Regions from separate parts of the Homo sapiens genome. Here all the other regions are linked to region 3. The links are contacts of gene promoters, found by promoter capture Hi-C in blood cells and fetal thymus (Javierre and others, 2016). All regions are on one chromosome and are shown on one strand. Each heading gives the region's core, a stretch centred on a gene start or on the middle of the fragment in contact. The rest is flanking DNA. Distances are from core to core; before and after follow the strand shown.

Region 1 (5,034 bases), core at 68-2,567, 290 kb before region 3:
TACCAGGGGATGTCTGCCTTGTCTTGGGCCTATGTATCAGCATAAATATTCCTTGTTTACCTGTTTGAGGTATCTACATTAGCAATGGAGTCTCTTACTGACCCAAGGAGCTTGTCCTCATTGGTTTGTGGCAGGGGTACGTGTGTAGTGTTCTAGCAACCAGAACACTTACTTTTGTTCCCCTCTTCTGTTTCCATACCCTACCCCCTCCTGCTTGTTTTTGCCCTCTACCATCTCCTCACCCCTTTGCCAGGTGTCCTCTTTGCCCGCCGCCAGCCTGTGCCAGCTTCCCAGGGTCCAACCAACCCTGCACCCCCACCCTCCACAGGGCCCCCTTCCAGCATCTTGCCCTGAGAGGTCCTACTTGAAACTAAGAGTCCCAGCCCCATTGCTGAGGGGGGAGGAGACCCCCTGCTTTGATTCTTTCTGGCTGCCCACTCTGGGACCCAGCCCTGGGAGGGGACGACACCTCCCATGCCATGTGGACTTAAAACCAAAGTTTCTTTTGATGTTACACCTACCTCATTGTAAAGGGAGGGCACCTCCTCCCTGGCCAATTCCAGCAGCACCTACCAAAGGGTTCTTCCTCCAGTAACCCCATCATCTCCTCATGTGTTCCCTCTGTCAATGTCATCTCTAGGACCCTACCCTTTTGAGTCAGCCCTGCTTCTCTTCAGGAGCCAAGTGAAAGGTTGGGTTGGGGTACTGTGAAAGAGACATCCCTCAGGTCACATCTAGACAATAAAGCTGCGGTCCCTCCCTCTCTGATGCCTCCTTTCTTGTTTGGGTATGGGAGGTGGGGAGGAATGATGTGGAACATAGGCTGCCTTGGGCCAGGGGCTTTCAGAGGTTAAGGCAGAATAGCAAAGTTTCGTGAGAATAGAAGAGCTCCGTCTCTTGAATCAGACAGCCTGAGTTCAAGTCCTGTTTCTGTCCCTATAGTGCTGGGTGGCCTTGGGCAAGTTACTTAATCAACTGAACCTTAGAAGACTCCAAAAGTTTATGGTAACTCACGGAGCCTCCTAATGATGTATCTATGGGAATGGACCTATCCTGGAACACGTGCAAACTCAGGGAATGGCGTGGGGAAAGCTCTTTGGTACCCGAAAAGCAAAGGTTATCTTGACAACCAGGCACTGGAAGCCAGGGGAGGGATGGGACAGAGCCGTTGCCAAGGTAATCAGCTTTTGACAGCTCCGAGGAGTAACTTCCGGCACTGAAGGGCTGAATCATGGCGTCACTTCCTGCATAAAGGGCCGCTCGTGCACTCGGATTGGCTAGCCTTCTTATTTGGACTGACGTCCCGCCCTCTGGCTGTTTCCTGGCCGAGGTGGGTCGGTAGTAGCGATGGCGGGTCTGACTGACTTGCAGCGGCTACAGGCCCGAGTGGAAGAGCTGGAGCGCTGGGTGTACGGGCCGGGCGGGGCGCGCGGCTCACGGAAGGTGAGTAGTCTGGTCCGGTAGTCCCTTTCTGGAGCAGAGCAAGAGCGGTCCACTGTCCTGGCCCTCGGGATGCAACCGCTCCAGTCCTGTTCTCCGCAGCCCGGCCTTTGAAATAACAAAGGTCCGGGACCTCCCAGAGCTGATTGGACCATCGGGGTCCACTGTCATAGGGGGCTCTGCGGGTGGTTAAGCCAGCCTGAGAGTGGGCTCCGTACCTACTGTAGCTGAGACTCCGCCCTTGCCCTCGCGAGCTATAGTTGGGGAGACCTGACACGAGAAGCTGACTAATGAGAGTTTCAATAAGAGCTGAAGTCCACGATAGGAAGGCCCGTCATAGAGCCCTGCATAATTAATTGCTAAATGAATTGTGCAGGAAGAGGTCCATGGGACCCCTGGGGAGGCAGAGCAGAGGTGGATAAGGAAAACGCCAAAGGGTGAGAAGTGAGGTCTGAAAGGACCAGGATTAGGAAGGGAAGAGACTGGGTACTGGGTATTCAGATGTGGACTAGCACTGCTTTATACCAGTGACAGAATTTTGACAACTACGAAGCTCAGGTGCCCTCTCCTCCCCTTTCTACTATGGGAAGATCTTTTATTGAAGAACTTCTGATGGCGTGTCAGGCATGTCCTGGAGCTAAGTGCGTCCAAGGTAATGATGTCTGTTTGTACACTAAATGAGGAATTAGTTGTCACTAGCAGACTGTGCTCCCATTTCAGAACTAACTTCTCAAACATTCTCTTCCTTTGGGATCTATGACGCTGACCCTCCTGGTTTTCCTTCTACCTCTTACGGCTGCTTCTCAGTGTTATTTGCCTCCCCCCTGGCATTCCTCATCCTCTACCCTAAAAACTGGGTGAGTGCAGTCACTTCCTTAGTCTCCTCCTCTATTTGACCCTTTAATATTGGGATTCTTTACATTCTACCCCTAAACTTTAGGTAGGCTCACTCGCTTCCATGGTGTCAATTACTATTTACATGTCAATATGTCTCAAATGTATATCTCTGGTCCAGATTTCTGTTCTGAGAACCAGACTTTTATGTCTAGTTGTCTACTGGACTTTTCCACTTGGATATCCAATAGTCATTTCAAACTCAATCTGTATGCCCTTAACTGTACTCTTTCTCTCCCCTAACCTGATTCTCTTCTGTATTCCCTAATTCAGTGATTGCACCATCATTGGGATCCCAGTTGTTTGGACTCTTCCATCTCCCACACCAAATTTGATGTGGAGGGGATAGGGCTAGAGGTAGGCCAGCCAATCTAGAGGTCATGAAGGCTTGAATGAGGATGCTTGTGTTTCTCATGCCCAAACCCAGGACTTAGGAACCAGAAAATATATTGTGTATACTCTATATTCCATAGACTCTAAAATAGTTCGTTATCTTCCCCATCAGACTTGAAACTCCCCAAGGAGTACATGATTCTCTCTCTCCACTTTAAGGATTCCTGGAAGGTGGGGCTGCATCTCCTTTAATATTAGAGAAGGGAGGCCAACCTAGATTACTGGGATTCAGGTTTGAGAGTCTGGGAGAATGAGGGTTCTTTAACTTTTCCAAGCCTTGAGCCAGGTAGTATATCTTGGAATTAACCACCACTTCCCTTACAGGTGGCTGACGGCCTGGTCAAGGTGCAGGTGGCTTTGGGGAACATTTCCAGCAAGAGGGAGAGGGTGAAGATTCTCTACAAAAAGAGTAAGTGCTTCCATGATGTGCCTGCCTGCCCGACATCCCACCCCTCAGCTTCCTGGTACCTGGCCCTAGCCCTTCAGTTCATTAGGTCACTGGAATAGCCCTTTGGGGATAGAAAGATTATGAGGACATTTACCTACACCCAATTCAATTGGTAAATTGTGGTGTGCTTTTCTACCTTGTGGCTAAACCTCAAGCCCATGACAGTGTCCTAAGTTATGAAATAAGAGCTCTACCTGAAAGCTTCTCTTGGTGAAGGAGGGTAAAAAGGGTATGGGATTTCCCAGGCAAGGTTAAGGGGCAGGAAACAAATTAGACACTGAGATCCTGGTTATGTCAGAACTAGTAACCTGCTTAGTAACTAGAAATTAGACAAAGCTCTGGCTTGTCTCGGTGACATCTAGGAGAAAAGAGGCCTTCTACCCTTGGTGAGGATAGGTCAGTGAGAATGCTAAGGGCCCAGAGTGGTGGTGGCAATTGTGTTTTCAGCTCTGAAGCTTGATGTCAGAAGAGACTTCAAGAGAAGAGAGTGGAGAGATAGGGAAGTGGGGATAGGGAGCCTGGTGGAGCCCTGCTCATGTGGCACTGTTGGGTATCAGCTCCTCATTGAAGGCTCTCCTCAAGGCTGACCACTTGTCAAACATCCTTCATAAGGCAGAGCTCTACTGCCCAACCCTATTCCATTTTCCATCTTGCTACTTTTCTAGTTGAAGATCTGATCAAGTACCTGGATCCTGAGTACATCGACCGCATTGCCATACCTGATGCCTCTAAGCTGCAATTCATCCTAGCAGGTAATGCTGGACTACATGTGTACATGCATCTGAGGATGTGGGTCGTCGGGGAGGTTAAGCACAGAGATGGCCTCTCCATCCAGTCTTCTGGTGGATACAAGCCCTGGATGCTGCTCTCTGGAATTGTGGCCTGGTTCTGGGTTGAGGATCCTATGGATCCTCTAGTAGACATTGAGTACAGTATACCTCTGCACCAGCTGCAGGCCATGGTGCCAGCCACAGTGGGAGCTAGTCCAGTGTTCTATCAATAGTTTGCCTCTTGGATTTTCCTTCAGAACCTTCCTCACTTCTGCTCACTAGACAGAGGAGCTTCTAGGAAAGGGTAGGGGCAGAGAGCATTGCCATTAAAGAACAGAGAGAGTATTGGCATGAGTTTCAACATCTTTCTTTCATGTGAGAAAGCTCTGCAGTGTCAGAGTTCTAGGCAGGAACTATTGCCTTGGCAATGTCTGCTAATCAGTCAGCCATTCTATAAGCTAGGGTTTTTTGAGCTTCGTTATTCATCCAAAAGATGTATAATGATCATCTACTCTGATCCAGGTTCTTTCCTAAGTGAGGAAGCATACAGTGGTGAACCAGAAAGTCCCTGCCCTCATGGGCACAGCCAGAGCTAGGGGAGACAGGGTCCCTGCTTCAGGGACCTGAGCTTATAACCCAGATGGGAGATCAGTCTCCCAGGAGACTGATCAGTGCAATGCAGCACTGAGGACTGGGTAAGGATGGGCCACTCCTGCTAAAAGGGCTGTCAGAGTTCCCAAAGGGCTCTTGGTCAATTGCCATCGCTCAAGCACCAAGTTTAGATATTCTCCTGCACTGACTCTTGAGTCCAGCCTCTCCATCCCTCCCTGTGGCACTGCCTCAGGAATTGTGCATCCACTTGCATATGAATGGTTGCACAGTCTCCTAAATCATACTCTTGACCCTAATCTTTCCCTTCCTGCATGTGGTTCAGTCTCACCCTCACAAAAACATGTTCCCAACATGTCACTTTGCCTACTTTGGAACCTCAGTGTATCCTGCCTTGCTAGGATAAAGTCCTAATTCCATAGTCTGCCATTCAAAGCCTTTCAGTCGGCCGGGTCTACCCTCCCATCCAACTCTGTTTCC
Region 2 (5,046 bases), core at 1,148-3,647, 360 kb before region 3:
TCTCTATTCTCCTCCTGAGACTCCTGTGATGAGGTATATTTGATGGTATCCCTGAGGCTCGTTTGGATCTCAAACTTTAGCACATATCAGAGTCACTTGGAGGGTATGTGAAAATGCAGTTTGCTGGACCCCATCCTCAGAGTCTCAGATGTGGTAAGTGGGAAGTAAAATCTAAGAATTCGTGTTTCTAACAAGCTCCCAAGTGATGCTGCTGCTGCTGCCCAAAGGCTACTCTTTGAGAACAACTGCCACAGGGGAAATTATTCACTGCCAGAACTGCAGCAAGATGAAGGATTTGGGGAATTAATACCCCTCTCTCCTTCCACCACTGATCAGTTGCTGCTTCCCATGGGCCAGCCCCAAACAGAAGCCAGAAAGCAGGTGACCCTAAGTAATGCTATCTGCAGAGGTCAGCCTTCCAGGGAGCAGAGCAGGGCCGTGAAGAGTGGAGAATGGATAGGCTGGGGCAAACAGAATAACCAGAACCATCATGGACAGAAGAATGGATAGATCAATGGAAAGAGGGGTGGATGGATGAATTAATGAACAGATACCTGAATAAAAGGATAGAAGGCCAGGCACGGTGGCTCACGCCTGTAATCCCAACACTTTGGGAAGCGGAGGCAAGCAGATCATTTGAAGTCAGGAGTTCGAAACCAGGAGTTCGAAACCAGCCTAGCCAACAAGGTGAAACCTCACCTCTACTAAAAATACCAAATTTAGCCGGGCATGATGGTGGGTGCCTGTAATCCCAGCTACTCAGGAGGCTGAGGCAGGAGAATCCCTTGAGCCCAGGAGGTGGAGGTTGCTCTGAGCCAAGATCGTGCCATTGTACTCCAGCCTGGGTGACAGAGTGAGACTCTGTCTCAAAAAAAAAAAAAAAAAAAGGACAAAAGAAGAACAATGGCTAACAGAGCTTATTGTGCGTCAGCCTCTAAGCTAAGGGCTTTACTCAGGGTTCCTCACTTAATCCTAAGAAGTAGATCTTCTACCATTCCCATTTTACAAATAAGGACACTAAGACACAGAAACTGGAGAATTTTCACCTTGTCGCAGTTAGTAAGTGGTGGAATCTGAATCCCAAGCTAGGCGCTCTGTCTGCAGAGTCTCCCTCCTCTGCACCGTGACTACCCGTGCTGTGCCATGACCAAGTGGCAGACAGGCGGTGTGGAGTGGAGGTAAAGACTGCAAACCCTAGAGCACACCTGGGTCCAAATCATGCTCCAGTACTTACTAGCTGTGTGGCTTTGTGCTCTGAGCCTCATGTTCCTTATGTGTAAAATAAGAATAATAATGTGAAAATAAGAAAAACTACATCAATGGTATTGTTTTGGGAAAGTTAAGCAAGGTAATAGTGGTAAAGTCCTTGACATAGAGCCTAGCACATAGTAAACAATCAAAAATACCATTACTATTATTATGATTAATGAATGGAAAGAAGCTAAGTCAGAAATTTAAGAGGGAAATGTTCCCCCTCCCTCTCTCCATCCAAAAGAGGGTCTAGGGTTTGGGTGACGACGGGTGACTGGGCGTTTCACATTTAGTTTCTCTTTCAAGGCCTTCTCTTCTGACCTTTCTCATAAGGATGGGAAGTCACTTGTCCCCTCCCCCATCGGCCGATTCCTTGAAATTTTAAGATTTGTCTGAATATGAGCTGGCCAGCCCCTCTCCTTAGAAATCCCCTCTTGGTTCCCAGGACTGAGAAAAGGGGGAAAATGAAGGGGGCTATTCCAAGCCAGTCTCCCTCCAGCTGTTCCTTTGACCCAGGTGTTGGACATAGGAAAACAGTAAATAGAGGAAGGGGAGGGTTTGCTGAGCCCCAGAGGCCTGAGATGTGGGATGGGGGTCCTGGGCCTCCTCCCAAGGTACCTGGCCTTTCAGCTCTGCTTGCCCCAAGGGAAGGACTGGTTCCCACATAGTGGGCAGGCACAGTGATGACCTTGGAGGCCACCCCAGGATCTCATGGTTGTCCTGAGGGTGCCAGGGAGCCTTCTTCACCACCAGCCCAAGAAAGAAGCACCAGTGAGGACAAGGGATAAACCTAAGGAAGGGAGCACAGTTCCTCACTGTGGGCCCCACCTTTGACCATCACTTCTGAACCCCAGCTTCATGGTTGATGATGCAAATGCCATCAATGGGATGACAGGGCAATCCCTCTCTCTGGAGAAACAGTGCACAGCCCCCTTTACTGGGCCAGACTGCAGACTTAAGTTCTCAGAGCAGGAGCCAAGGAAAGCAGAAGGAAAGGGCAACCGCAGGGGGAAGAAGGGGGGCAGGGTGCGATTCTGCCAGAAAGAGGGGGGCAACAGGGGAATCACAGAATGGGACATGAAGGGGAATTTCAGGCAGAGAAAGTGAAGCTCTGGCCATAAATAGGAGTCAGCTGCAGGGCTCACATTCCCAGCCTCACATCACTCACACCTTGCATTTCACCCCTGCATCCCAGTCGCCCTGCAGCCTCACACAGATCCTGCACACACCCAGACAGCTGGCGCTCACACATTCACCGTTGGCCTGCCTCTGTTCACCCTCCATGGCCCTGCTACTGGCCCTCAGCCTGCTGGTTCTCTGGACTTCCCCAGGTAAGGCTGAAGGGAGAGTCAGGGTCAGAGGCAGTGGGGGGCTGGCAGTGGGTAATGTCTAGATCTCAGATTGCTTGGCACTGGACGTAAGGGACATGGTGAGTTCAGGCAAATGCTTAGGTCTGTATATTTCGGTGAGCCTGGCAGGTCCCTGCATGTGTGCCTGTAAGTGTGGGTGTCCCTGTGCCCCTGAATCCCAATGCGGGTGTGTCTTTTAGCACATCCTGGGGCCTATGGCTGTGACTGTCTCTGCAAGCTCTATTTCCTGCTGCCTCCGTTTCCCAGGCAGAAGGAGATTTGCTTAAGGTAGGGAGAATGGCAGACACTAAGCCAAGGCTGATATTCAAAAATTTTAGCAATTAATAAGGCTCCTAACACCAGCCTACCCTACCCCACGCCCCTCCCACACTGTGACCTGCATTAACTCTTTACTTGCTGGATTGTCCTGGGAGAGAGGTTGGGGTGATCAGGGCAGCAGGAAGTCATTTGTGGGGCTCAGGGCAGTGGTTATTTACAAAACAGTTTAGAAGTATGACAATATATTTAGCAACCAGTAGAGCCAGAGCCATATTGGTGCATAATGGCTGAATACCAGGTCTAACTCCTCCCCGACCCCACCAGACACACACACACACACACACACACACACACACACACACACACACAGGTGTCCTCAATCCGAGCTAGGGCCATGGCCATGCCACCCTCAAGGGTCCCTGTGTCCTGTCACCTTCTTTCCCCATCCCAGCCCCAACTCTGAGTGGCACCAATGATGCTGAAGACTGCTGCCTGTCTGTGACCCAGAAACCCATCCCTGGGTACATCGTGAGGAACTTCCACTACCTTCTCATCAAGGATGGCTGCAGGGTGCCTGCTGTAGTGTGAGTTGTGGGGAGGGTGTCTAGCCTCATCTCCCGTTTTAGCCCCTGTTGAGACTCCCACCTTCTTATTCCCCTTCTCCATGCCAAGCCCAACCCCTTCAAGGAAATCCCTGAAACAGGTTCCCAGACATGGTCCCCAGGCATGCTGGATTCTGGGGCTCCATTCTCTCCGGCCTCTCACCCCAGGTTCACCACACTGAGGGGCCGCCAGCTCTGTGCACCCCCAGACCAGCCCTGGGTAGAACGCATCATCCAGAGACTGCAGAGGACCTCAGCCAAGGCAAGCCTGGCCCTCCCTGGCCCTGTCTCCTCCCTCTGAGCTCCTGTCTAAGATTCCAGCCCATGATCCTTCCTCTCCTTCCTCCTCTAGATGAAGCGCCGCAGCAGTTAACCTATGACCGTGCAGAGGGAGCCCGGAGTCCGAGTCAAGCATTGTGAATTATTACCTAACCTGGGGAACCGAGGACCAGAAGGAAGGACCAGGCTTCCAGCTCCTCTGCACCAGACCTGACCAGCCAGGACAGGGCCTGGGGTGTGTGTGAGTGTGAGTGTGAGCGAGAGGGTGAGTGTGGTCAGAGTAAAGCTGCTCCACCCCCAGATTGCAATGCTACCAATAAAGCCGCCTGGTGTTTACAACTAATTGATCACAACCTGTTACAGATTTCTTTGTTCTTTCTCCACTCCTACTGCTTAACTAGCCTTAAAAAAAAAAAAAAAGGCACCTGGCACCCATAGATCTGTCTGCTGTCCGTTTGCTGTCTAGCCAGGTGGACAGGAATAGGAAGGGGGAGGTGGAATGGCAGGATCTATTTTCTCTTCTGTGGCCTAGGGGGTCTCCTTGCTCACCTCCACTTAACAACCTGATGCTCTCAGGATCAGCCTCATTGCTTTCCATAGTTCAGCGACACTAAGCTTGGGTCAGTTCCCTGAATGAGCCAGCGTCTCATGCCTCCCACTCTTTGCTCTCCAAGGCAGGTGTTCAAGCATCCAGGTGTCTAAGGAATCCAGTGTCACTGGGGGGAAGGGAGTTGTGGGGAACCAGCTCTCACGGCTGGGGGAGGTGGAGTGGGGCAAAGGGCCCAGCTCTACTGCCTGGGGGAAAATACCCATCCACCCATGCCCTTCCCTTGGTCTGGCACACTCTTCTCTCTCCTCTGCCCACCTGGCTTCCCATCTGGGTCCAGACGCCTCTTCCTCCAGGAAGCCTTCCCTGACCCCAGGCTGGGTTAGGTAGCCTCCTGCAGTGGCCCCTCACAGCATTCATCACCCTGACTTATAGTTGCTGGTTTGTCCAAATTTGTCCATGTTCTTGGACTGGGATCACATCTATTTTGGGTTCCACTGTTTTTGTGGTGTCCAGCATGCTGCTTGGCACAAGGCAGTCCCTCAATAAATATTTGTTTAGAGAATGAATAAATATGTGAGGAAAGGCTCAGCAGCCAGGGCTGAGGGTCCATCTGTTCATTCTGTCCATACAGAATCTGACCTCCAGGCCAGCCTTCCTCTCTCAGCCAAACTGAGCAAGGTCCAGCCCCATCTTTGCAATCCTGGGGCCATGCCTCTCAGGGACACCGACAGACAGA
Region 3 (5,174 bases), core at 831-3,330:
TGACATATATAGAGGGTCTGACATTATCAGAGGTACTAAATATATGAGTTACTGTTACCCGTGTGTCATAAAAGATCATCAAAAAGCTTCTCTGTTTTAAAGAAATGACTTTTCATCTTGTCTGTTAAACTGCTCAACACTGTTCACCACAGTATATATATTCCTTATAAGGTCCCACAGCATAAATTCCTTTTAATATAGAAACTAGAAAAATAATTTATCTTTTGAAGAATGGATTTGTTTCCTTATTAGTAAGAATTACCTTTTTTCCCTTAACTGACTAATTTTGGGCAAAATTGGGTACTCAGTTACAAAAAGTACACCAACGCACTGACTAGTGTATTTGCCTGTTCTTATTATAAGAATAATAGCTACCTTTTTTTTTTTGAGACGGAGTCTCCCTCTGTCGCCCAGGCTGGAGTGCAGTGGTGCGATCTCTGCTCTCTGCAAACTCCGCCTCCCGGGTTCGTGCCATTCTCCTGCCTCAGCCTCCCGAGTAGCTGGGACCACAGGCGCCCGCCACCACGCCCGGCTAATTTTTTGTGTTTTTAGTAGAGACGGGGTTTCACCGTGTCAGCCAGGATGGTCTCGATCTCCTGACCTCGTGATCCGCCCGCCTCGGCCTCCCAAAGGGCTAGGATTACAGGCGTGAGCCACCGCGCCCGGCCGCTACCATTTTTTAAGAAGTTACTACTCGCCAGGCGTTGTGTCAAGTGCTTTACCTTCATTATTTCACTTAATCTTCACAACAACCCGCTGAGGCATTACTGCCATTTTTCAGAAGAGTAGAAAGGGAACTATAGCTCAGAGATGTCTGGGTAAGTGACTCAAATGTAGGTCTGCCTGACTCCTAACATCAATGATCTTAACCTTAACTCTATAATAGCGTTTTACATTTGACAATTTGATTGCATTCAGTTTTTTTTTGTTTTGTTTTGTTTTTGAGACGGAGTCTCGCTCTGTCGCCCAGGCTGGAGTGCAGTGGCGCGACCTCCGCTCACTGCAAGCTCCGCCTCCTGGGTTCATGCCATTCTCCTGCCTCAGCCTCCCGAGTAGCAGGGACTATACGTGCCCGCCACGACGCCTGGCTAACTTTTGTATTTTGTTTAGTAGAGACGGGGTTTCACCGTGTTAGCCAGGATGGTCTCGATCTCCTGACCTCGTGATCCGCCCGCCTTGGCCTCCCAAAATGCTGGGATTACAGGCGTGAGCCACCGCACCCGGCCTGCATTGTTTACGCTGTCCCTTTTTTGTTTGTTTGTTTAAGGCGGTGGGGCTCTTGTTCGACTTTCTTTACTTCTGCTATAACTGCCACGATATTATCCATTCAATAACTGAAGCAATTAGAAAACATAAAATCTCTTTTGGAAAGCAGGCGGGGTTTAATGGGTAGCAACAAGTGAAACTGAGGCCCAGGGAGGGGAAGGTTCGGCGCCTGGGCCTCTGGGCCCTAAACCTGGACCTCTCCCGCCTCTGGGATTTGGACGACCCACCCTATCCCCACTCCGACGGGGACAAGCAAGGCTCAGAGTCAGGGAACCTCCCTTCTCCCGGTGCAGACAGGAAAACTGAGGTCCTGAGAGCGGATGGGACCTGGCCTGCCCACACCTCACTGCCAACTTAGAGGAGGGCGCATCCCTCTCGGGCCCTGCAGCGACCAGAGGTTTGCCAGAGGCAGATTCCCATCGCTCCAAGGCTCATTTCCTCCACTGAGAACTAAAATCAAGTGGGCCCTTAAGGGTACTCACCCGAAGCAGAAGGAGGTAGGAGGCGGACCTTGGACGGAAACTGAAGTACACCGGCCAATCAGAAGAGCCTGGTTACGCTTGGGCCCATCAATAGAATTCGGCAGAAGGATCTTCGACCCGCCTCAAAGGTGCGCGTCTCACACTGAAACGTCGCGAGATCTTCCCTCAAGCGGAACGATTGGCTGAAGGTCGGAAATTGAGAGTTACGCCCACGGTTTCTTCAGACCTCTGATTGGTCTTCCAGAGGAGAAGTCAACGAACGTCAACCGATTCCTTGGATGCCCATTGGTGGGCGGTGCGGGACTGGCGACGCGCGGGCCACAGCGCGGGCGTTCGAACTGGCGCTTGGCGGCGTTGCCATGGAGATGCGGCCTGGCCGCCGCCGGTGGCTCCCGGGTTGACGGGACTGTTAGGTTGCGGGCTTTGGGGCTCACTCCCGACGGCATTGTCTTCTCCTCTTCTCAGACAGGGCAGACCGAGGAGTTTGGACCGAGGTGAGAAAGGGCGGGGAGAATAGAGGAGGGGTAGGTCTGGTCCGGAACCGTGGCGCCTGCCCGCGGACACGGGTGCGCGTGACGTCGGCTGAGCGCGGGAGGAAACTGGCAGTTGTGAGGGAACCGAGAGTTGGCCCCTCTTGGCTCTTCCTAAAGTTCACCTACTTTCCTATCTTTCATCCCCATATCTCTGCCTTTTCTTCAGCAATTATCTTGAACGCCACTTCTCTCACTTTGGGAGACTAAACTCTTGAGTCCCAAAGCCTTCTTGCTTTTGAACCGATAAGCCTGACCGGCACCTCTTTTAGGGCATTTCTATTCGCCCTTGGGTTGTTTACTTCCGGGAAGCCCGTTCGCTTCCCTTTTCCCATAAAATTTTGAAGCCTTTGAGGTAAGGCAAGCATCGTTCACAATGTCTTGCACATAGTAGATTTTCAGGAAATATTTGTTGAGTTGAATTTAATTTACAAGAAATAGATTGGATTCCTCTTCATGCCCTGCCTTGTTGTCTCTCTGCTTCAGAGACGATTTTTTATTTCGAGGCTAGGGGGAGGCCACCCTAATCTTCAATGCAAAAGGACCTAAAAGTCCACACACAGTCCACAGCTGGCCTTTCTACTCTTTGTGAAAGGCTAAACTTTTTTGGATTGGTTGCTGCAACTCTTCCTGCATCTGTGGCTTTTAGCCTTGGTCTCCCAATAATTTTATTAGACTCCTTTTAGTCTTTGCTTAAAATAAACCATTCTGTTGCTGTATGCCAAGATAATTTATCTCCCTTTAGCTTCTTAGTGACCGGCAGCTATTGTCACATTTTAAGTGTGCTTTGGAAAATGTTTTAAAGCATCTTCTTTGTACTTGTATTCTACAAGTAGAGAGGCTTTGTAGTCTCTCTATTGAAGTGCATATAACAGCTGCTCAGGTGAACTCCATCTATTCATCAGGTGTCTATGATAGAATTGCGTTCCTAAGACTGTTTCGTTGTTAACTCATGGATTATATATTCACAGCCTGATTGTTGGTGTGATTGCTCCTTATATCAAATTCATAGCTCACTGGTGGCCTTAATAAAAGGAGTGAAAAAGTTCAGTACAGCAGCTATGTTCTTGTTACCCTTTTATAAAAGTTTGAAACACTACCTTATAGCTGTGACATGTAGTGGAAACCCACTACATGTGGGTTTGGCTTTGGCTCTGTCTCTGTCTCTAATTCACTGTGGGTGGCTTTGCAAGTCATTTAGTCCCTTTATTATTATTATTATTTTTTTTTTATTAGAGAAAATGTCTTGCTCTGTCACCCAGGCTGTAGTGCACTAGCATGATAATAGCTCACCGCAGCCTTGAACGCCTGAATCTAGCCCCTTTAGACCTCATTTTTTCCATCTGGAAAATCAAAGAATTGAATTAGATTAAAATTCCTGTGGCTCTACTCTCAAGTCAAGTAGTTGATGTCAGGTAGACCACACACTCTCAGCCTTCCAAAGACCATACAGACTTTTTTTTTAGCTGCTGAAAGTAGTAGTTACCATTTATTGAGTGTTCACCCCGTACAAAGCACTGTATCCAGGGCTTTATATGCATATTACATTTTTCTTAGTGTAGCACATTACTGCTAAGATAGCATTTTATTTAAAATTTGTGGTTTTATATTGTTAATGAAAATCTTTAGTTATTCAGAGTGTGTCCTTGGGGCAACCTAAGGTATGAGCCTCTCAGTTTTTAGTTTAGGGAGAACCACAGTTTCTTTCTCTGGGCTGCTCTTTTGTCGTAAAGTGAGGGGCTGAACTCTTCTAGATCCCTTCCAGATCTAGTATTCTATGATGCCTGATATATTAATCCAGTTTCCCTATGCTGGCTCAGCAAACCAGTTTATAATTTGCACAGTGTAGATCCTCAACACATTTTGTTAAATAAATAATAGAGTTCTACTTCTTAAACCTTGAGTGTATGGTCATTGTATACCTCCCAAGTTACTGTCTCAAGGGTTTTGATGTTCATATCGTGTTGAATAAGAAGAGTTTTCTGTAGGTATAAACTAATAATAATAGTATAATATATTGTTGAGTGTTTATATATCAGACACTGAATGTAGCAGTTAATTTACATTATTCTAATTAACCCTCATGAAAGGAAACATTTTTTCCAAGTCAGCATTTTTTTTTGTCAGTTCAGTGCAGTAGCTTCCTAAATGATCTCCCTGTTTCCACTTTTGCCCACCTGCTGTGATCCATTTCCTCACAGAACTGGGAGAGTGAACTTTGAAGACGAATCATAGCATATACTTTCTCCACTTAAGATCCTCTAATGACTTCCTACTTCACTTAAAAGTAAAATTCAGACACTTTTATGTGGCCCAGTACACCCTACATAATCTGGCCCCTACCTTTCTCTCCTCTTCTCATACTATTCTCCTTCTCACCTACTATGCCAGCCAACCTGTCCGTGTTTGATGGCTTGATTTTGCCATGCTCATTTCCACCTTTGGGCTAATGTGCTCACGTGGAACCCTCTTCCTCCTGATTTTTACATAAGTGACTCCATGTTATTTCAGGTTTCACCTCAAATATTCCCTTCTGAATGAAGCCTTCTCTGATCATCCAATGTAAAGTAAGCCCTGCACTGGGCTTTATTCTTCGGTAGTGATTATCATCATCTAAAACTACCGCTTATTGATTATTAATTATCTCTTCCCATTAAAATAATAGTGTCATGAGGGCAGGGACCTTATCTGTTTTTTGGGGGGTTTTCTTGAGACAGGCTCTTACTCTGTCGCCCTGTTGCCCACACTGAACTGCAGTGGTGTGATCATGGCTCACTGTAGCCTCTGACTCCCAGGCCCAAGCAATCCTCCCACCTCAGCCCCCCAAGTAGCTGGGACCACAGGCATGTACCACCATGCCCAGCTAATTTTGTTTATTTGTAGAGACAAGGCCTCA
Region 4 (5,089 bases), core at 2,283-4,782, 310 kb before region 3:
GTGCCACTGAACTCCAGCCTAGGTAACAGAGCAAGATCCGGTCTCAAAAAATAAAAATAGGCCGGGCGCGGTGGCTCACGCCTATAATCCCAGCACTTTGGGAGGCCGAGGCGGGCAAATCACGAGGTCAGAGTTCAAGACCAGCCTGGCCAACATGGTGAAACCCCATCTCTACTAAAAATACAAAAAAATTAGCTGGATGTGGTGGCAGGTGCCTGTAGTCCCAGCTACTCGGGAGGCTGAGGCAGGAGAATTTCTTGAACTGGGAGGCAGAGGTTGCAGTGAGCCGAGATTGCGCCACTGCACTCCAGCCTGGGCGACAGTGGAGACACCATCTCAAAAAAAATAAAATTAAATTAAGTTAAAATAAAGTGGCCAGGTGCAGTGGCTCACACATGTAATCCCACACTTTGGGAGGCCGAGGAGTGTGGATCACCTGAGGTCAGGAGTTAGAGACCAGCCTGGCCAACATGGCAAAAACCTGTCTCCACTAAAACTACAAAAATTAGCCAGGCATGGTGGTGCACACCTGTGGTCCCAGCTACTCGGGAGGCTGAGGGAGGAGGATAGCTTGAACCTGGGAGGCGGGAGTTGCAGTGAGCCAAGATTGCACTACTGCATTCCAGCCTAGGCAACAGAGTAAGAATCCATCTCCAAGAAAATAAAAAATAAAAATAAAAACCACATATAAAAATAAAAAATGCTTGTATCAACATTCCCCAAGGCAACTTGGAAAAGTGTCCCGAGCAGTCGTTCTCTACCTTGGCCCAAATAAACTCTCTATATTAATTTTGCCTCAGCTTTTTTTTTTCCTCACTGTTGTTTTTGTTTGTGTGTTTTTCTTTTTTGAGACAGAGTCTCACTCTGTCGCCCAGGCTGGAGTGCAATGGTGCAGTCTCCACTCACTGCAACCTCCACCTCCCGGGTTCAAACGATTCTCCTGCCTCAGCCCCCCAAGTAGCTGGGCCAAGTGGGTGGCACGCGCCACCGCGCCCGGCTAATTTTTGTATTTTTTAGTAGAGATGGGGTTTCACCATGTTGGTCAGGCTGGTCTCGAACTCCTGACCACGTGATCCACCTGCCTCGGCCTCCCAAAGCGCTGGGATTACAGGCGTGAGCCACCCCGCCCAGCCTGTTTTGTTTTTTTTGAGACGGAGTTTTGCTGTTTCACACTGAGGCTGCAGTGCAATGGCGTGATCTCGGCTCACCGCAACCTCTGCCTCCTGGGTTCAAGTGATTCTCCTGCCTCAGCCTCCTGAGTAGCTGGGATTACAAGCATGCGCCACCACGCCCAGCTAATTTTGTATTTTTAGTAGAGACAGGGTTTCTCCATGTTGGTTAGGCTGGTCTCAAATTCCCAACCTCAGGTGATCCACCCGCCTCGGCCTCCCAAAGTGCTGGGATTGCAGGTGTGAGCCACAGTGCCCGGCCCCTTTTTCTTTTCTTTTTTTTTTAGAGACAGGGTCTCCCTCTGTTGTCCAGGCTGGAGTGCAGTGGCACGATCTTGGCTCATTGCAACATCCACCTTCTGGGTTCAAGCGATTCTTCTGCTTCAGCCTCCCGAGTAGCTGGGACTACAGGCACCTGCCACCACGCCCGGCTAATTTTTTGTATTTTAGTAGAGACGAGGTTTCACCATGTTGCCCAGGGTGGTCTCGAACTTCTGAGCTCAGGAAATCTGCCTGCCCACCTTGGCCTCCCAAAGTGCTGGGACTACAGGTGTGTGCCACTGTGCCTGGCCCTTTTTTTTTTTTTTTTTTTTTTTTTTTTTGAGGCAGAGTCTCCCTCTGTTGGCTCAACTGCAACCTCCACTTCCCAGGCTCAAGCGATCCTCCCACTTCGGCCTCCTGAGTAGCTGGGACTACAGGTGTGCGCCCCCACTCCTGACTAATTTTTGTACTTTTTGCAGAGATGGGGTTTCACCATGTTGCCAAGGCTGGTCTCGAATACCTGGACTCAAGTGTTCCGTCTGCCTCAGCCTCCCAAAGTGTTGGGATTACAGTTATGAGCCACCTCGCCCGGCCTCAGTTTCTTTCTTTAAGGTCAAAAATGTATGAGGCTACTTTTTTCCAGTTCCTTTATGTTTTATATATATAACCATCACATAAAATTCTCACCATGTGAGGCACTAACTGCTTTATAAATATTAACCCATCTAATCTCATCACAATGAAGATATGTACTATGAGGTAGGTACTTATCTCCATTCCATTTTACAGGTAAGAAAACTAAGTTACAGAGATTTTAAGTAAACTGCCCAAGATCAGACAACTAGTAGGTAGCAGGAGCCAGGCCTTGAACTCAGGCAGTCCAGCTCCAGAGTTTATTTCTTAATCACTGCACAATGCTACCTCTTTTCTCTTTTGTTTCTTTTCCTTTTTGCTTTCTTCTTCCTCTGCCTACCCTTTGCTGTTGGTGCTCTCCAGGGCTCTGTCTTTAGCCTTATCTTACTCTATTCTCTCTCCCTGTGAGATTTCATCCATTCTTAGAGGTTTTCTGTAGACTCTCCAGTGAGATCTCTAAGCTGGGGAGTAGGACCATTGTTTCTAGCCATATCCCTAATGGCCACCACAGAACTTGGCACATACAAGTGCCAACAAAGTATCTGAATGAATGACAACTCCCAGCTCTATCTCCAGACTGGAGCTGAGCTTCGAGACCTGGACACTCAACTGCCCACTAGACATGCAAAGGATGTTAGCCAAATAAGGGGAAAGTGGGGATAGGATAAAGGGGGAAAGAGTATTCCAGGAAGAAGAGATCAAGCCCTGCCAACTCCATTTCCAGAGTTGTTAAGCTCATTTCTTTCTTCCATCTCCACTGACACAGACCTTCCCTCTTACCTGGCCCACAGTCATGGTCTCCCTGACTCATCTTGCTCCCCTCCACTCGACAGTCCTGTGCCACTCGGTGGCAAAATCTAATCCCCTTCCTCCCTTGCTGATAACCCTCAGCTGGTTTACAAGGCCTCCTCTCACATTTTGTGCCGCAGAACAGAGAAGGAATTGTAGGCCCCTGAAGACCCCAAGCTGTCTCTCCTCGGAGGCCTTTGCTCTAGGGGCTGGTCCCTGTGGGCTGGCATGCCCCTTCTGCGAGCTCTTAAAGACACTGCTCAGGTGTCACCGCCTCTGGAATGCCCACCCTGGGGCTCCCAGCTTGAACTGCCTCCTCTCCGCTTCAGTCCTGGTAAAGGCGGGCCTTAACAATCGTTGAGTCCCAGAAGGCTTCACTTCCGGGCTCGTCTGCTTCACCAGCCAGTGAGCTCGGGCGAGCCCGTCCATTCTGGGTCTCACTATCCCCACACCTATCCGTATGTAGAGTGGCGCTAGCTAGGTCAGACCTCGCCTGAAGACCCTGACATCTGCCGCTGGGCGACTTGGCCCCGCCCCCTTGCCTCCCTTGCGCGGCACCGCCCCACTCCTCCGTGCTCCCCCCGAGGAAATGGTTCAACCGAAGGGCGGTGCCAAGGTGCCCGGGCCGCTCCGATTGGTCAGGGCGAGCCGTACCACGGCGGTGGCGGGGGAGCGCTTCGTGGGCAGCCGGCGGGCTCCGAGGCCGTGAGCGCAAAGCCTCAGGCCCCGGCTCCCTCCTGAGCTGCGCCGTGCCAGGCCGCCCGCCGGGATGCAGTGGGCCGTGGGCCGGCGGTGGGCGTGGGCCGCGCTGCTCCTGGCTGTCGCAGCGGTGCTGACCCAGGTCGTCTGGCTCTGGCTGGGTACGCAGAGCTTCGTCTTCCAGCGCGAAGAGATAGCGCAGTTGGCGCGGCAGTACGCTGGTGAGCGGGCAGAGGGCAGGGAGGGGAGCGGCCGGCCTGGGAGCGGAGCCTAGGGTTCCGAAGGCGCCATCCCCGGACCTAGGACCGGTGCCAGCCCTGACTCCGCCGCCCCTCTGCCTCCGCCAGGGCTGGACCACGAGCTGGCCTTCTCTCGTCTGATCGTGGAGCTGCGGCGGCTGCACCCAGGCCACGTGCTGCCCGACGAGGAGCTGCAGTGGGTGTTCGTGAATGCGGGTGGCTGGATGGGCGCCATGTGCCTTCTGCACGCCTCGCTGTCCGAGTATGTGCTGCTCTTCGGCACCGCCTTGGGCTCCCGCGGCCACTCGGGTCAGTGCTAGCGGCGGGCCAGACTGGGAGGCTGGGGTTGTAAAGGGGCCCATGCCCTCCTTTCTGATGTTTGGCTGGGCCATGCAATGGCGCGAATACCCTGATAGTGTCATGTGCGATTGTCACTCAGGGCGCTACTGGGCTGAGATCTCGGATACCATCATCTCTGGCACCTTCCACCAGTGGAGAGAGGGCACCACCAAAAGTGAGGTCTTCTACCCAGGTGGGTAAGAAGGCTCTGTCAGAGAAGTGGGTCCCTTCACGCGGGGGGTGCCCACAATTGCGGGGAGCATGGCATGGAAAAGGAGTGTGTTGGGGGGGCCCTCCTCATGGTTCCCTTCCTCCACCCTCCCATAAGCCACAGGTGATTGGTTGGGGCAGAGCTGAGGGACTCTTGCTTTCCTCTGTCAAGGGGAAACAAAACATAACAACTTCCTATTAAACATGTCTGATTTTTATCTGCCCAGGCACAATTTTGCCCAGACAGTATTCCAACAACTGTTGGGGAGACAATGGGTAATCAGAAATGCTCTCAATACCCCAAAAGACAAGACAGACAGTTATCTTTTTATTTGTTTGTTTTTTGAGATGGAGTCTTGCTCAGTCGCCCAGGCTGGCGTGCAGTGGCGCGATCTCGGCTCACTGCAAGCTCCGCTTCCCGGGTTCACGCCATTCTCCTGCCTCAGCCTCCCGAGTAGCTGGGACTACAGGCGCCCGCCACCACGCCCGGCTAATTTTTTTTGTATTTTTAGTAGAGACGGGGTTTCACCATACCAGCCAGGATGGTCTCGATCTCCTGACCTCGTGATCCACCCGCCTCGGCCTCCCAAAGTTCTGGGATTACAGGTGTGAGCCACCGCGCCCGGCCGCTCCCCTGCCTTTTTTTTTTTTTTTTTTTTTTAATAGTGAAACAATTTACTTAAGAAATAGAGCACTGGACTTCCCAGTATATTTGAGGTTGGGTGTATGCATCGCAGGCATGGTGGTTGA
Region 5 (5,221 bases), core at 2,088-4,587, 330 kb before region 3:
TCAGCCCCCCCTCCAGGTGACCCCAGCCCCTGAAAATCCTCACCCAGGGCCCCAAATCTCCCAGCCCCATGACCGCCAAACCTCTCGCCCTGGCCCCCTAAATGCCCCAGGCCCCGGAGATGACCGGCCTCCTCACCCCTTAACTTCCAGTGCCTCCCAAATCTCCAAGCCCACCCTGTCCCGTGGTGGCAACTGAGGCTTCTCGGGGGCATCAGCCTCAGATTACCTGAGAACTGGGCAGCCTCGTCCTGAGAATGACGGAGAAGGGGACCTGGGGCTAGGGAATCCCTGATTCAATCATGCCGCTCCCCAGGAGACGTTCGGAGCCCAGGACATGTCGGGAATGAGGAGATACGAGGTGGCGCTGGAGGCGGAGGAGGAGTGAGTGGAGGCGGGTTCTGCGGAGGAGGAACCAGGCGGCTCCGGGGTGGGGGAGGGTGGAGTTCTGCGGGGGCGAGGGGTGGGCAGGGCGAGCCTCCCAGGGGCGTGGGCGCGAAGGGAGCCGCTTTTAGAGGCGGGGCGGAGCCTTCCTCGACGGCGAGGCACCGCGGGGCGGAGTCTGTAGGGTCAGCTCCTCCCCGCCCCGCCCCGCCCCGCCCGGCTCTGCCCTCTCTCTGCAGGATCTACTGGGGCTGTTTCTACTTTTTCCCCTGGCTTCGCATGTGGCGGAGGGAGCGGAGGTGAGGAGGCTGCGATACCGCGGACCCGCCCCGGGCATGGACGGGACTCAGTCTCTGAGGACCCATCGGGGGGAATCCGGTAGCTCCCGCCCCGCCTCATGCCAGTGTCGGGTCGCCCCACAGCTCGGCGCACCCCGGGGAGCAGAAGCTGGAGCCTCTGCGAGGCCTGATGAGCTGTCTGTCCAGCGGCCTGGGTCCTACTCCCCAGCGCTCGGGTCGTGGCTTCCCCCGCCGCAGCCCCACCGCCGCTGCCCAGCCAGCCAGTGCATTAAAGATTTAAACCGAAGCCCACCGTACTGACCTCCTGACTCTGCCGCCGCTGTCGCCATTCGAGCCGAGCGCCCCTCCCCACACGGGCTCTGTTCCGTACTGACAGGGCGTCCCTCCCTGGAAGGGTGCCCTTCCACGTCAAAGCCCCTCATCAGTGTCAGGCCTCCTGTTACTATCAATGGCTGTCTCCCCCAATCCCAACCCCCAAAAACCCATACTGTGAGTCGCCTATATGAAGAGAACTAAATAATCCTGCCTGTTACTCCCTTCCTCGGAGCGAGGACTTTGCCAGCTGTCTGAAGAATCTTCTCTGCTGGGAGTATATCTAAAACATTTTAAGCAGAGGTGTAGGATGCAGGCTGTAAATGGTAAGAGGGGGAGATTCCTAGAAGCTGCCTGCCACAGAGGAGCGACTTGGGTTGGCGACCTTTCCTACAGTTCATACCCCAACTTTTGGCTCCTCCAGTCTGATCCCAAGTTTAGAGATCCTTGGCATCAGCCTACCTAGAAGTTCTTGCTCCCTCCCTAGGAGAGTCCAAGGGCCACTGCTCTTTGCCGCCCCCTTCTGTCACCCAATCAGCCTGGGACCCACTAACTCCTCAAGTGGTGAGAATCAGGGACTGCTATGTGGGCCTGCCTTCAGTTAGGGACTGGACCCAGCACCAGAAAGGGCACCACAAGATTAAGTTAAAGAAAGAGATGGCCCAGTTTCTGGCTGGGGCCAAAGCTACAGCAGATTGTGGCTGGGGAGAAGACTTGGTCTTAAAGGGGAGAGATGGGTGCACACCCAAAAGCATTTGTTTTCTGCCTTCCGAAGACTTCTGGACCGACAAGCCCAGGGAAGACCAGAAAGTATGTAGCGCACAGCCAAGTGATGAAGAAGGTCTATGACAAGCCCGAGGAACCTGGGAGATTTCCTTGGGATTTCCTCAGTGGCTACACCCAACAAGCCTTGGGACACAAGAGAAAGGCCTAAGCCCTATCCCAAGAGAAAGCCTACTCCATAGAGAGTGGCTGACCCTACAGCAGACGACTGCAACAAGATAAGGGCTGGATTACTGTGTTATGACTTGGTTTATGTTTCAAATATAGAGCAGGACTTGCAGATTGAGATCCCTGGACCAGGAGTGGGAAATTCTTAAAGGAGCCAGGGGCACTGAACTTGGCAGCATACCCCCACCCTAGGCAGCTCCCAGCTTCCTGGAAAGGACTGGATAAAGATGAATAGGAGCTTTGCATTGCAGGGAGGGGGTAAAGAACGGAGTGACAGCTGGGTATGGGATTAGGAGAGAAGCGGCTATAGCTGGAGGGTGGGATGCAGGGGGTATAGCAGTTGGACATGAGGGTGTGACTGAACCCGGGTAGGGAGAGGGGATGTTCCTCCAGGCCCAGGAAGGAGGCTGGAATTTGAGTAAAACAAAGATGTAATTGAGTGCTTGAGTCCAATGTCTTCAACAAGTCAGGGACTGGATCTGGAGACCCTAGGCCCCTGCTGGCAAGAGGTTGGCATTCCTGGAACAGGACTAGACAAAAACAGGAAGGTAAGATTCACTGGGCCTTTTACCTGTTTTGACAACAGTAACCTAGCACCAAAGAGCTTTTATCTTCCCTCCTTATCTACCCCACCTTTCCTCCCTGTCTCATCATCCTGGGGAAAGCTGCCCCACCTCAGCATCTCCAAAACACCCTTAATATTACCATAAAGGGCCTTCCCCCAGCTTCTCTGAATGGGGCTGGCCTCAGCCAAGAACCCTCCTCAGCCAGAAGGGCCTGCTCTAGGGACCCATTCCCATCCATTTCTTCTGATAAGACAGGCAGGCCAAGCCAGGAAGTGGGGAGGAGAAGGTGAAGGCAAGTTGGTGCTTGCCTGCCCTCTGCTCCCACCCCACCCACAACTCCCCTGTCAGAATCTGTGTGTGCTAGTGTGAATTTGCTTGTGATTGGATGACTGTGAAAACACAATTGGGTGGGAGAGGGACTTTGAGTATAACCGGGGCTATATAATTTTGTCTACGGTTGTCTGATCATGAGTATGACTTTGTGAGGTTGACCAAGTGATTGAGGAGTGACTTTGAATGTGTGGCTATGCGTATTTGAGTGTGAATGTCTATCATTAGATGCTGCTGTGGATGCTTGACTGCCCTTACTCACTGTTCCATCAGTCCCTACATCACACACTAATCCTTCCCCCAGCTTCACTGCCCAGAGCTTAGGAGCACATGGGAAATGGCTATCCTAGATGAGGAAGGAGTCTGTGGCAACAGGCCGAGAATTAGGGCCCAGGAGTGTCACAGGTTACACAGTACATCTCCAACTGCCTCTGACTCACCTAGTGCCCCAGGTAAAAGGCACCCAGATAAAAGGTAGGGGAGGAGGAGAGAGAGAGAAGGAAGAGTCTAGGCTGAGCAACATGAAGGGGCCCCCAACCTTCTGCAGCCTCCTGCTGCTGTCATTGCTCCTGAGCCCAGACCCTACAGCAGGTGAGTACTTGGGGGTATAGAAAGCTGGGGGTCTGGGTGAATGGGATGAAGTTGAAAAGACCCAGGAAATCCAACCTAACCTCCAGCTGTCTGGCAGAGAGGTTCTTGGTCAGGATCCCTCTGAACACATGGCCCTGTTGCCCCTAGCATTCCTACTGCCACCCAGCACTGCCTGCTGTACTCAGCTCTACCGAAAGCCACTCTCAGACAAGCTACTGAGGAAGGTCATCCAGGTGGAACTGCAGGAGGCTGACGGGGACTGTCACCTCCAGGCTTTCGTGTGAGCTCCCACCCCTGATACCCCTGACTCTGACCTCAGTCCCAACCCCTAATGCTGATCCCAACCCCAGCCCTAACTGCTAATTCTGTTGCCAACTCAGGTTTTCATCTGGTCCTTGCTCCTAACCCCTAATTAGGGTCATTGGGGATGACCCTAATCTCATCCCCAAGCTATGGTCATAGCTTTGGACCTTTCTCTACCCAGGCTTCACCTGGCTCAACGCAGCATCTGCATCCACCCCCAGAACCCCAGCCTGTCACAGTGGTTTGAGCACCAAGAGAGAAAGCTCCATGGGACTCTGCCCAAGCTGAATTTTGGGATGCTAAGGAAAATGGGCTGAAGCCCCCAATAGCCAAATAATAAAGCAGCATTGGATAATAATTTCTGAGTATAATCTCCAAGAACTTCCTTATTCTCTTTATTCACACCTGCACAACCCCTGCAAGGGGAAAGGCCAAGAGCCAAGGACCCACACACACTCCCCAGGCACCTACATACATGCATGCAGAGAATACATGTTCCCTGCCTCACAGACACATGGTCACACATGGACACAGATGTACACATTACACACGTTCCTTGAGCAGAACTCCAACTCTGGGGTGAAATCAGAGGTACAAGCACCTTTCAGCTGCAAATTTGAAATACAGGGTCTCACAGAAATGGGCTCCAAACAGAACTTCCAGCTGAGATCCAACCATAGGGATCTACTGTCCTGCCTGGTTTCTATCCACACCAGCAAGACAGAATTATAGGTGGAATCTGCCGAAGCCCTCCTGGGTCCTCTACAGGTTTGGAGCTCCTAGAAGAAGCAGGAGGCAAATCAGGAGAGACAGTAAGACCGGATCTTGGCCCAGACACCCTGAGAATGAGGGAGGTGACTCAGTTCTAAGCTTAACACTCTGAAGATGAGTAGAGGAGCCCAGCTCTGAGGGAGCCTCTTCAACACACTGAAGATACGGGAGTGGACCTAGCTCTGGGCCCAGGCACATTAAGAATGAAGGAGGGGACCTAGCACTGATCCAAGACACCTTGAAAAAAAAGGATGAATATCCAGCTCTGAGTCTAATACCCTGGAAGAGTATTAGTACTAATACTAATACCCTGAAGGGAAGTCCACCTGGGGTCCTTCCTCAGTACCCTGAGAGGAGGGAAAGAGACCCACTTCTGAGCCCAGGGACTCAAGAATGAAAGGCCCAGCCCTCAGCCTAGACATCATTAAAATGAGGAGACCCAACTTGGATTCCCAGCATGTTTTAAAATGACTAGGGCAGCCAGCTCTTAATCTGGACACTCAAAATAGGGGCAAACATCTCCAAGTCCAAATCTTCTGGATGTCCTACTCACCTGGACGCCTGTCCACTGGAATCACTGAGGCCAAGAACCCAGGCTTTGGGGATCCATCCTTCCCACCCCGTCTCAGCCTCAGCCTGGGGCATAGAAAGGCAGCTGTCTCTCCAACAATGTGGGTTATCTCAGTCTCCGCCAAAGGGTTTATTAGTAAAGGGTCA

What was found. Contacts are between HindIII fragments. The CHiCAGO score rates a contact against its expected background, and 5 or more counts as called.
Region 1: the fragment with the promoter of DCTN3 here is called in contact with the fragment with the promoter of KIF24 in region 3 in 17 of 17 cell types (naive CD8 T cells, M0 macrophages, non-activated CD4 T cells and 14 more); the score reaches 19.5 in naive CD8 T cells.
Region 2: a contact is called between the fragment with the promoter of CCL19 here and the fragment with the promoter of KIF24 in region 3, in 8 of 17 cell types (naive CD4 T cells, neutrophils, fetal thymus and 5 more). The highest score is 9.3, in naive CD4 T cells.
Region 4: the fragment with the promoter of SIGMAR1 here is called in contact with the fragment with the promoter of KIF24 in region 3 in 10 of 17 cell types (fetal thymus, naive CD4 T cells, M2 macrophages and 7 more); the score reaches 9.6 in fetal thymus.
Region 5: a contact is called between the fragment with the promoter of CCL27 here and the fragment with the promoter of KIF24 in region 3, in 1 of 17 cell types (neutrophils). The highest score is 6.0, in neutrophils.

The regions. Positions count from the first base shown.
Region 1 is chr9:34,616,778-34,621,811 of GRCh38, reverse strand. It overlaps DCTN3 (dynactin subunit 3), which reads left to right and starts at 1,317. Exons shown (of 7, transcript NM_007234.5): 1 at 1,317-1,443; 2 at 3,052-3,136; 3 at 3,841-3,927. The coding sequence starts at 1,348. It overlaps ARID3C (AT-rich interaction domain 3C), which reads left to right. Exons shown (of 8, transcript NM_001017363.4): 8 at 254-763. The coding sequence ends at 354. The HindIII fragment of the contact is 4,259 bases long and covers 1-3,378 here.
Region 2 is chr9:34,688,627-34,693,672 of GRCh38, reverse strand. It overlaps CCL19 (C-C motif chemokine ligand 19), which reads left to right and starts at 2,397. Exons shown (of 4, transcript NM_006274.3): 1 at 2,397-2,582; 2 at 3,331-3,463; 3 at 3,650-3,743; 4 at 3,834-4,103. The coding sequence starts at 2,534. The coding sequence ends at 3,854. It also overlaps a transcript of PHF24 not described here. The HindIII fragment of the contact is 13,722 bases long and covers 1-4,377 here.
Region 3 is chr9:34,326,174-34,331,347 of GRCh38, reverse strand. KIF24 (kinesin family member 24) reads left to right here and starts at 2,080. Exons shown (of 13, transcript NM_194313.4): 1 at 2,080-2,242. It overlaps NUDT2 (nudix hydrolase 2), which reads right to left and starts at 1,779. Exons shown (of 5, transcript NM_001161.5): 1 at 1,749-1,779. RefSeq lists enhancers at 1,834-2,023, 1,559-2,066, 2,154-2,253, 2,354-2,413. The HindIII fragment of the contact is 30,936 bases long and covers 89-5,174 here.
Region 4 is chr9:34,636,230-34,641,318 of GRCh38, reverse strand. It overlaps SIGMAR1 (sigma non-opioid intracellular receptor 1), which reads left to right and starts at 3,532. Exons shown (of 4, transcript NM_005866.4): 1 at 3,532-3,772; 2 at 3,899-4,099; 3 at 4,230-4,322. The coding sequence starts at 3,622. RefSeq lists a silencer at 3,293-3,782. The HindIII fragment of the contact is 14,478 bases long and covers 1-5,089 here.
Region 5 is chr9:34,660,773-34,665,993 of GRCh38, reverse strand. CCL27 (C-C motif chemokine ligand 27) reads left to right here and starts at 3,337. Exons shown (of 3, transcript NM_006664.4): 1 at 3,337-3,430; 2 at 3,578-3,710; 3 at 3,915-4,104. The coding sequence starts at 3,361. The coding sequence ends at 4,050. IL11RA (interleukin 11 receptor subunit alpha) reads right to left here. Exons shown (of 13, transcript NM_001142784.3): 12 at 5,058-5,140; 13 at 4,092-4,512. The coding sequence ends at 4,496. It overlaps LOC730098, which reads left to right. Exons shown (of 3, transcript NM_001320038.2): 1 at 1-381; 2 at 621-680; 3 at 804-1,831. The coding sequence starts at 335. The coding sequence ends at 960. It also overlaps a transcript of PHF24 not described here. RefSeq lists a silencer at 375-624. The HindIII fragment of the contact is 12,066 bases long and covers 1-4,605 here.